2 separate regions of the Homo sapiens genome follow, and region 1 is linked to region 2. The links are contacts of gene promoters, found by promoter capture Hi-C in human tissues and cell types (Jung and others, 2019). All regions are on one chromosome and are shown on one strand. The core of a region is centred on a gene start or on the middle of the fragment in contact, and the rest is flanking DNA. Distances in the headings are between cores, read along the strand shown. Region 1 has its middle 110 kb from the start of FAM120A. Region 2 holds the start of WNK2 (WNK lysine deficient protein kinase 2).

Region 1 (5,602 bases), core at 1,552-4,051, 160 kb before region 2:
GTCTACCCTCTCACTATCCACATTCAGGGATGGGAAGGATTTGGGGAGTGAGGAATGTTTATAGAAGTTCAGCCCAGCTCCCTGCTGTAGAATGTTCTTGTATGAGCAGTCCAGCAGTCAGTAAAGCAACCCTTTTCATTGTTGAACTGCTCTCGTTCTTAGAAAGTTCTTGTTTCTGTTGACTTGAAATTTGCTTCCGTGGTTTAATTTTTCCCGCTGTTCCGAATTCTTTCACATGCCACGCAGGATGTGCCTGTTCACTGAGTTCATAATCTTACTTCTCACGGGCCTTGTACTTAGCCTTCTTCAAGCTGATCATGCCTCAGGTTTTGCCTCCTTCTGTCACCAGGCCTCCTCTTCTGGGCACCGGCCTCTGGCTCTTCCCTTGGGGTCTGGCCAACACCGCAGGCTTTGGGCCAGCATCAGCTGCCCCGGGGCTCTTAGCTCTTGGGAGTTGCTCCTCCATCCTTTGCCTCCCTGGGCACCGACCTCGTGCCTGGTCTCAGTCCAGGCTCAGCCAGCCAGACCGGCTCTACGGGGCCTCCTCTCCCTACAGGATGGCCAGACGCCGCGCCCTCCCACTGTGCTCCAAGGCCCCACCCTGCCTCTCTGGACACTGGATCTGTAGTGTAACGGGAACAGGTCACATGAGAGTTTCCTTTCTATACCTTTTTATCTTCTGTAGACTATTGAGACTTAGTAAGCATGTCTGTTTGCACATGCTTAAAATGGTTGGAAAATTTTGCCTTGTCTATGTTTGCAAGCAATGAAAATTAAAGGTGGTAGGGATTATACTGACTTATTTAATCTTGGGCTCAACATTTTCAAAGCTATATTTTTTGGGTAATATATGAAAATCATACAATGTCTGCCCGTACAGTTTTTTTTTTTTTGCCTGTGTATTTTTTTTTTGAAGACTTACTTTGTCCTCTTCTTTGTTTTGTTTAACATAACATTTCAGAATAATATGCCAAGTAATGGATGAGCGTTTGTTAGGTTGGGCTAGGAATGGGGACTGGGGTAAGGCAGACTGTAGTTCTAAGAAGAGGTTCCAGTTTAACACCATTCCTTTAAGAATTATATGTTATTTTAATTCAGAGCAAAGGCCACACAGCTGCATATAGGCATAAGTGAGTCTTTTGAGGAAGTAGGTAACTGAGCTATAAAAAGTCGAGATTGCAGCCAGGTACGGTGGCTTATGCCTGTAATCCCAGCACTTTGGGAGGCCAAGGCAGGCGGATCACCTGAGGTTGGGAGTTCGAGACCAGCCTGACCAACATGGAGAAACCCCATCTCTACTAAAAATACAAAAAGTTAGCTGGGCATGGTGGCGCATGCCTGTAACCCTAGCTAGTCAAGAGGCTGAGGCAGTAGAATCGCTTGAACCCAGGAAGCAGAGGTTGTGGTGAGCCAAGATCACGCCATTGCACTCCAGCCTGGGCAACAAGAGCAAAACTCTGTCTCAAAAAAAAAAAAAAAAAAAAAAGTTGAGACCGCACAGCTGAGGGACTGCAGTGCGTGTTTCTTTTCTCTTCATTCTGAAAGAACTTTTTACTATTTAAAAACTAATTTTAAAGTTATGAAATATTTCAAAATATAATAAACTTTTTTTGGCCTTTTTTCCTCTTTTTGCTTCTTGTATTCAGTCTGCATACTATTTTAACAAAAGCCCACCTCTCTAGTAAGTGTGAAAGGAAGAGAGTGAGAAACTGGTGGTGTGATCTCTACTCTGGAGCCCCGTGTCCCTTCTGAGAAAGATGCCTCTTGTTGTAGAGAGGACACACAGTGGTTCTGCTCAGCTGCACTTGGGCATGGAGAACAAGAACCGATATAGACGAAGGCCTGAATCCGCAGAGGCAGACCCTGGGTTAGGAGGCACTTCTGCAGCCTTCAGAAAATGCAGACAAATTAATTCACTTATTGGACTGCTTTAATAGAATAGTGACTTGCTCTGTGGATTCACAGAGGATTATTTGAGGTCAATGATTGGAATGTGATTTTAGAAAATATTCTTTCCCTGGAATTCTTTGGTTTTATGCTGTAATGTAGTTTGTTTGTTTGTTTGTTTGTTTGCTTTAGAGGAAAATTGGTGCTTTCAAGGAAGGTTTTAGGATGTAATGGCCAAAAATAGAAAAACAAAAATGATCGTCTGCACTTGAATGCTGCTGCTGCATGAGACTAGCCTTGCATTTTTACTATTACAAAGTTAGGGCTGGGCATGTGGCTCATGCCAGTAATCCCAGCACTTTGGGGGCCGAGGTGGGCAGATCGCTTGACGTCAGGAGTTCGACACCAGCCTGGCCAACATGGTGAAACCCCATCTCTACTAAAAATAAAAAAACAAATAGCTAAGTGGTGGTGCATGGCTGTAGTCCCAGCTACTCGGGAGGCTGAGACAGGAGACTCCCTTGAACCCGGGGGGTGGAGGTTGCAGTGAGCTGAGGTCATGCCATTGCACTCCAGCCTGGGCAACAGAGTGAGACTCCTTCTCAAAACAAAGTTAGGTATGTGAGGATACTCACAAGACATTATACACTAGACATTTTACATTGATTTAAATTATACTGTTAGAGCTTGAATCGACTTTGTAATATTCTCTGGACCAAATCTGGCTATGATTCAGAATCACCTGTGAATGAGTTTTTGAAATAATGGTGACTTCGATCGCATACTTAGAAGTGCAGATCTAGGTGACGTACTCTTTGATTAGGAACACCTCCTTGTGTGGTCTGTGCCATGCATGTGTGTGTGGCATGCATGCCTGTGTGTGTATGTGTGTGTGTGCCGTGCATGCAAGGGTGGGGGTGTGTTTGTGTGCACTCCTGTGTGTATCTGCTCCTGTGCATGAGTGAGTGCTTGCTTGTGCACACACATCCCTTAGAGGCATGGATCTGTGGACTTATTGTTCAGTCAGGGACATGTGTGCACGTGTGTCTGTGTGCATGTTGCGTGCAAGTGTGAGGTGTCTGTGACTACAAACATGCTGGTCTCATTATTCCTAGCTTCTCATACTGCAGTTTTCTTTGTTTAGTACAAAGCTGGAAGCTCTGCCAAGGTTTTTTCTTGGTGCGAGCCAGGATCAAAGGGCTATGGTGTTTTAGAGCTTGTAAGCTGAAAGCCCTTAGAAGGTGGGAACTTCACACAGGATCATAGTCTGTAAGATTCCTGGTCCTTCTCTGGGGGCAGTCAACAATGATCTGTACCTCACTCCTAGCCTCCGTGGGCCATGCTTGGCTCTCAGGAGGCTGGGCCCAGGACAAAGTTTGCACTCCTGGTCTCACCACCCCTAGTATCGGCTTAGGGAGCCTCTTGTGAGTGCAGCCATGGATGTTTGCTTTCAGGGAGCAGGAGCAAAGGTTTGGGGAATGTTTCTGTCCTCACCTATTTTGGCAGATAGGCAGTGTGAAAGGTGGTGGTTCGTGGGTTGTGTTCCCCGTCCCTAGTGTATTTGTCTGTTTTCATACTGCTATAAAGAACTGCCTGAGACTGGGTAATTTATAAAGGAAAGAGTTTTAATTGACTCACAGTTCAGCATGGCTGGCGAGGCCTCAGGAAACGTAACAATCATGGCAGAAGGCAAAGGGGAAGCAAGGCACCTTCTTCACAAGGCAGCAGTAAGAAGTTCCAAGTGAAAGGGGAACAGCCCCTTATAAAACCATCAGATTTTATGAGAACTCACTCCCTATCATGAGAACAGCATGGGGGAAACTGCCCCCATGATCGAATTACCTCCACCTCATCTCTGCCTTGACACGTGGGGATTATAGGCATTAATTTCAAGATGAGATTTGGGTGGGGAAACAAAGCTTAACCATATCATTCTGCCCCAGCCTCTCCCAAATCTCATGTCCCTTTCATATTTCAAAACCAATCATGCCTTCTCAACGGTCCCCCAAAGTATTAATTCATTCCAGCATTAACTCAAAAGTCCAAGTCCAAAGTCTCATCTGAGACAAGACAACCCCCCTCCTCCGCCTATGTGTCTGTAAAATCAAAAGCAAGTTAGTTACTTCCTAGATACAATGAGGGTACAGGCATTGGGTAAATATGCCCCTTCCAAATGGGAGAAATTGGCCAAAATGAAGGGGCTATAGGCCCCATGCAATTCTAAAATCCGGTGGGGCCATCAAATCTTGAAACTCCAAAATGATATCCTTTGACTCCATGTCTCACATTCAGGTCACACTGATACAAGAGGTGGGCTCCCATGGCCTTGGTCAGCTCCACCTCTGTGGCTTTGCAGGGTACAGCCTCCCTCCCGACTGCTTTCACAGGCTGATGTTGAGTATCTGTGGCTTTTCCAGGGGTGTGGTGCAAACAGTCAGTGGATCTACCATTTGGGGGTCTGTAGGACTGTGGCCCTCTTCTCATAGCTGCACTAGACAGTGCCCCAGTGGGGACTCTTTGGGGGGGCTCTGACCCCACATTTCCCTTCTGCACTGCCCTAGCAGAGGTTCTCCGTGAGGGCTCCACTCCTGCAGCAAACTTCTGCCTAGACATCCATGCATTTCCATACATCCTCTGAAGTCTAGGTGGAGTTCCCAAACCTCAGTTTTTGACTTCTGTGCACCTGCAGGCCCAATACCATGTAGAAGCCACCAAGGCTTGGGGCTTTCACACTGTAAAGCAATGGCCTGAGGCCTGAGCTGTACATTGTCCTTTTTTAACCACAGCTGAGATGCAACACACCAAGTCCCAAGACTGCAAAAAGCAGCAAGGCCCTGGGCCCGGCCCATAAAACCATTTTTTCCTCCTAGGCCTCAGGGCTTGTGATGGGAGGAGCTGCCTTGAAGACCTCTGACATGCCCTGGAGACATTTTCCCCATTGTCTTGGCTATTAACATTTGGCTCCTCATTACTTATGCAAACTTCTGCAGCCAGCTTGAATTTCTCCTCAGAAAATGGGTTTTTCTTTTCTATCCCATCATCAGGCTGCACATTTTCTAGACCTTTATGCTTGCTTTTCTTTTAAACATTAGTTCCAATTCCAAATCATCTCTGTGAATGCATAAAACTGAATGCTTTTAAGAGCACCCAAGTCACTTCTTGAACGCTTTGCTGCTTAGAAATTTCTTCCACCTGATACTCTAAATCATCTCTCTCAAGTTCAAAGTTCCACAGATCTCTAGGGCAGGGGCAAAATGCCACCAGTCTCTTTGCTGAAGCATAGCAAGAATCACCTTTGCTCCAGTTCCCAACAAGTTCTTCATCGCCATCTGAGATCACCTCATCCTGGACTTCATTGTCCATATCACTATCAGCATTTTGGTCAAAGTCTTTCAACAAGAATCTAGGAAGTTCCAAAGTTTCCTACATCTTCCTGTCTTCTTCTGAGACCTCCAAACAGTTCCAACGTGTGCCTGTTACCCAGTTCCAAAGTTGCTTCCCATTTTCAGGTATCTTTATAGCTGCACCCCACTCTTTTCAGTACCTATTTATTGTATTAGTCCATTTTCATACTAGTATAAAGAAGCTTTCCTGGGACTGTGTAATTTATAAAGGAAAGAGGTTTAGTTGACTCACAGTTCAGCATAGCTGGGGAGGCCTCAGTAAACTTATAATCCTGGCAAAAGCAAAGGAGAAGCAAGGCACTTTCTTAACA
Region 2 (5,170 bases), core at 23-2,522:
CCTCGGCCGCCCCCTCATCCTCCTTCCTCACGGTCGCCGCCGCCTCCTCCCTGGGGCCGCCGTCGGGGGCAGGCGCGGTTTCGACAGCGGCTGCGATGGGGTCCGGGCCGGGCTCCTGCGTGCCCACGGGCTCGGGGCCGGCGTCCGCGGGGGCTCCGGGGGCTCCCGGCTGCGCTACCAGCGCTGCGGGCGCGGGGGCGGCGGGGCGTCCGCGGGCGCGCTCCGCGATGAGGCGGCGCGTCTTGCAGAGCAGAAGCACCCGGCGCTGCAGGGGCTGCGGGGGCTGCGGGCCCGGCGCCTCGGCTGCCTCCAAGCCCGGCGGCTCCTCCTGGTCCGACTCTACCACGCTGCGCCGCAGAAAGCGCTGGGGCCCCGGCCGCGCCGCCTTCGCCCGAGGCTCCGCCATGCCCGCGGGCCCCGCGCCGCGCCCGGGCTCCATCAGCGTGCCGGGGACGTCTCGGCGGCCGCCATCGCCGTCCATCTCTGTGGGCCAAGGACACACAGGCCCGCGTGAGCGCCGGCCCTGCCGCACCTGCCCAGGCCGCCGGATGAGACAACGCCGCCCTAAGCCCGCAACCTGCCCAGCCCCGGCCGCGGAGAGAGCCTGCGGGGGCCGTCTCTGGGGGCCCTGGGAAAGGGGGGCTGCAGACGGGACCAGAGGCTTGGGTTGGGGAGGAGGGGTCCGTGCCCTGCTCAGCCCCAGGCTGCGGAGAGGGACGGGCCTGTGGTGTCCCTGGAACCCTGGGAGAGAGGACCTGCTAGGGTGTCCCTGAGGGCCCCGGAGGCCGGCAGAGGGATCTCGCGCCCTGCCCAGCCCTGGCCCAGGAGGGTTCTGCTAGGCTGTCCCGGAGGCAGCTGTAAAGGGGATAGGGAAGCCCGGGGGTGGGAGGAAGGCAGTGGCCCGGCGGCGGCTCCACAAAGGACGCGGGCCCGGGGCGCGGGAGGGGCGCGCGGGGAGGGGGCTGCAGCGCCGCGGCGCGCACACAAAGGCGGCGAGCGGCGTTGAGGGGAGGCTCGGCACTCACAGGGCGAGCGGACGCCGTCCATGCCCGCGGCCCGGCGGCCAGGGCGTGCGAGGCGGGAGAGATCACGCTTCGAGGACGGGGTCCGAGTTCCGGGCGAGGTCCGCGCTGGGGTGGGGGCCGTGGCGCCGCTCCAGCTCCTGCGCGCTGCTCTCTCGGGCCGGGCCACTGCGGGGCCGCGCTCCCGCGTGCTCCTGCCGGCTTCGCGCGGCTCCGCTCCCGCACCGGCTCCGACCCGGCGCGCGGGGAGGGCGGGGCTCCGTTCGCCCCGCCCCGGACCGGCGCAGGGGGCTGGGCCTGGCACGCCCACCTGGCTGCGGACGGGCTGGCTGACTGGCAGGCGCGCGCGGCCACCTGCGGGCCGGCTACCTGGGCTCCCACCCGCGGTTCTTTGCTCGAGGTAGCGCTCCTGTCCTCTGAAGTTCTTTGGAACGCCCCGCAGGGCTGTCAGCTGCGGAGGACCCCGTTTCTTCCTGAGAGGAGGCAGCAGGCTCAACGCCTCAGCACGCCGCAGCCCGGCGCGCTAGACCTCAAGGCCCTGTGCCAGGACAGAATGGGCAGGCTAGGAAGAAAAGGACCAGGGGTACCGCCGCCCTCGGGAGCCCAGCCTGGGGCTAAGCCTGGTGGGGCTCAGCGTGTCCTTTCCTGCCCTCACTTCACCACCAGGAACCATGAGGACCTCATCATCACCCAGGGAGGCACTGGTGATCATTATGCCCATTTCACAGTCTAGAGCAAACTGAGGCGCCAAAGGCAGAAGTTATATGCTCTAAATCCCAGAACTTTCAAGACCGAAGCTGAGCTGGAATGCCTTGGATGGGATATGGAGAGGCTTCCAGAAGCCCCTTGACCCAAAGTGTTCTTCCTTCCCACCTCTGCCAGATGCCACCTCTCCCGAGAAGTCTTCCATGATCTCTAGCTCCTTCCTCCTCTAGACCCCCACGGACAAGCCCTCTCTTGGGCGTCTCTGGCCCTAATGCAGCAGGTGACCTGTGTCAGTAACCATACTGCTAAGTTCTGAGCCCTGCTCCAGGCAATGCCCTGAGCTAACACTTCACCCTTACCCCAGCCTCCATGATCCTAGGTGAGGAAACTGAGGCACAAGGGAGATACCAGAGTATTCTCATCTCAGTCCCCATCCCACTGGGCTGGCACCCCCATCAGATACACACACACTTCCAGAGATGAAAAGATGCTTGTGGGCCTGTAGGCCTTGGAGCCCCTGGCACAAAATAACTCATGTGGCATAAAAGCCAGCAGAGGCGATATCTCACCTTCACAATGTAGAGGGAAGAATATGCCAGGCCAACTGTTACCCAGAGAAGCAGGACTTCCTGGAGCCCCGCTGGGCACTGGCACTGGCTGAAACTAATTTGTGAGGGGCAACAGTGAACATCCCTTCCCAGCTCTGGGTTCAGCAATGCCACCCTGTAGCCTGAAGTCAGCAATGCTGGGAGTATTTACACTGCGGAAATTGGCAAACACCTCAAATCAGGACTTTTCTCCCCAGAGAGCCAGTGGTTAAATAGTGTGCTAGGTGTAGGGCTATGCATTTGGCACTTGCCTGTTATTTATATAATCTAATCTACCGTGTGAGACAGGCATTCATTCCGGGGCTCAAGTCCGCTGGCATGAGCCCAGAGCTCACACGAGGAGGAGGCCAAACAGCAGACGCCAGCTCTGCAGGACAGAGAGGCCTGAGGGACAGGGATCTAAGTTGCATCTCCTGGGGCAGGAGTCTTCCAGGTAGAGGTCAGGGGTGGAAAAGGATCTTTTCTGTCTTCCCTTTGGAGGCTAAAGACCCCCCAACCTTGCCCCTAACCAGCTGAGTGAACTTGGGCAAGTCCTGGTCCTTCCTGAGCCTCAGTATCTGGCCCTGCAGAGTGGGCTGATCATCCTGACTTGCCCACCTTAAAAGGCTGCCAATTCCTTGTAGATTCAGTCAATCTAGGAAGGGCACCAAGTCCACAGACCTGTTCATGATGGGTGTGTTCAAGCCTATCCAAGGGAAAACCAGGATGGGACAGAGCTAAGCGTGTTCTGAGACCAGCACACACCTATCTGGCCTCCTCCTGCTCCCAACAGGCCACACTGGCAGTGTGTGGGCAAAATACCTGCCAGCATCGGAGAAGGTTCATCAGCACCCATGGCTGCTGCCCACCCACACTTGTACACATGCGTGGGAAAGGATGGCTACACCCACAAATCAGCAGGGAGCAGCCCAGGCTGTGGGGAGTGGGGGACAGCCTGTCCCTGAGAGAGTACTGTGTGCTCTCTGAGCCCTTGGGGTGAATTCACGCATCTCTGCTTACACACCTCCCATGGTGGAGAGCTCATTCTCTCTGCCAACCCATGACCATTAGGGTACACAGCTAAGTCAGTAGTGGACAGGTCACAGTTTCCTCTGCAAGGAATCTCAGGCTGGGCTCAGGAGCAGCTCCTGGGATCCTGGCAGATGGAGCCTGAGGGATCCTTGGACAGACCTTGGAAGTCAGGACTTCACAGCACTGGCTATATGCCCTTTGGCAGGTCACTGGATATCTCTGAGCTTCCATCTCCCTGCTGCTAAGACGGGGAGTATAAATACTGTAGTCTGCTTTACTGGGTGTCCTGAGGCTGCATGATCCAGGGTCATGATGCCAGCATTTGTCTTTTGGAGGTTTGTTTTTTGTTTTCTGCTTTTGTTTTTGTTTTTTTGAGATGGAGTTTCACTTTGTTGCCCAGGCTGGAGTGCAGTGACGGGATCTCAGCTCAGCTCACTGCAACCTCTGCCTCCCAGGATCAAGCAATTCTCCTGCCTCAGCCTCCTGAGTAGCTGGGATTACAGGCGCCCACCACCACGCCCAGCTAATTTTGTATTTTTAGTAGAGATGAGGTTTCACCATGTTGGCCGGGCTGGTATCGGACTCCTGACCTCAAGTGATCCAACCACCTCAGCCTCCCAAAGTGCTGGGATTACGGGGCAGCATTTGTCTTCGATGTTTAGAACAGATGAGTACATTGAGGTCTTGCCCAGAGATTTTTCAACTTTAAGTAACTTTCTCAAGGCCTCAGAGTGGAGACAGTGACCTCTACCCACAGCTATCACCTTAGCTTCCACAATGCCAGGGAGCCCCTTTGGTGAAAAAAGTTTCTCCCAAGTCCAGGCTATGCTCCAGCCTACCCAGCCAGTAGGCACGTGCAGGCACACACCTGCTCCATGCAGATGCAGTTCCAGGAGCTGGGCCTCAGCAAGCAACAGGACCATGGTTTCAGTTTGCTCATCTGTGAGATGGGCATAATGGTCATGCTCAACAGTCTTGGCAACAAAAGGCATTCAACAAATGCTCATGAAAGAAGGGAGGAAAGGAGATGGGGCTAGCTCCACTGCCTCTGCTCACATCAGGGCCCATTGAGGGTCACTGGCTAGAAGGAAGAGCAGGGTCTAGCCATGCCCAGCTGGAGCTCAGTCCACAATTGCCCCGTGGGGCAGGTTCTGCCTCTGAGTGGAGTCAGGCAACCTATCTAGTGCTCAGGTCCAGTGTGGCCAGGCCACTTGCCTGAGTGCCCCCCGGGTCACACCATGGGGAGAATACCCTGGCAGGGGCATCAGATGGGGAGGACAGTGCTGGAAAAGCAGAGCCCAGAGAGGCCAGGCAAGTGGCTTGGGGGAATGCAGGAAGACCTGTGACCTGAGGAAGGGCGTGGGGACAGGATGAAGGCCTGACAGTGTGTGGTGGCAGGAAGGTGGCAGTAGGTGGGAGCAGGTGGGCTGTGGAAGCTCGGGCCCCTACTCCTGGAAGATGATGTCAGAGGATGGGAAGGGCATGACCAGGCTGCAGTGTCTTCCTGCTGTGGGTCATAGAGCCTCAGGACAACCAGCAGGATGGAAGCTCCCCGTGGGTAGGGCCTGAGGTAGGCAGGTCGGGTGGTACAGGATGACACAACGCTTCTGACTCAGCTGTGATGGATGAATGGTTGAAGAACTTGTTTCCTTCCAACAGCAGGGTTCCATTAGAAATGTTCCGAAGTATGACACACAAATCAGAAAACGATCCCGTTTCCTAAGTCAACACTTCACTGTGTAGGACTTTATTTGCGATTCTAGTGGAGAGGTGAGATTTGGGGTGACGCTCAGTTCTGGTAAGGCAGATCATACAGCTAAAAGT

Evidence for each region. The method cuts DNA at HindIII sites, captures the fragments that hold promoters and counts their contacts. A contact is called where the count stands out against the background at its distance.
Region 1: a contact is called between a fragment that was not itself captured here and the fragment with the promoter of WNK2 in region 2, in 2 of the 25 tissues and cell types used here (dorsolateral prefrontal cortex and spleen).

What each region holds. Positions count from the first base shown.
Region 1 is chr9:93,337,525-93,343,126 of GRCh38, reverse strand. It overlaps the pseudogene FAM120A2P. Among named protein-coding and RNA genes, the nearest start is that of FAM120A, 110 kb to the left of the region's middle. The HindIII fragment of the contact is 9,643 bases long and covers 1-5,602 here.
Region 2 is chr9:93,180,241-93,185,410 of GRCh38, reverse strand. It overlaps WNK2 (WNK lysine deficient protein kinase 2), which reads right to left and starts at 1,272. Exons shown (of 30, transcript NM_006648.4): 1 at 1,026-1,272; 2 at 1-483. The coding sequence starts at 481. The HindIII fragment of the contact is 13,924 bases long and covers 1-5,170 here.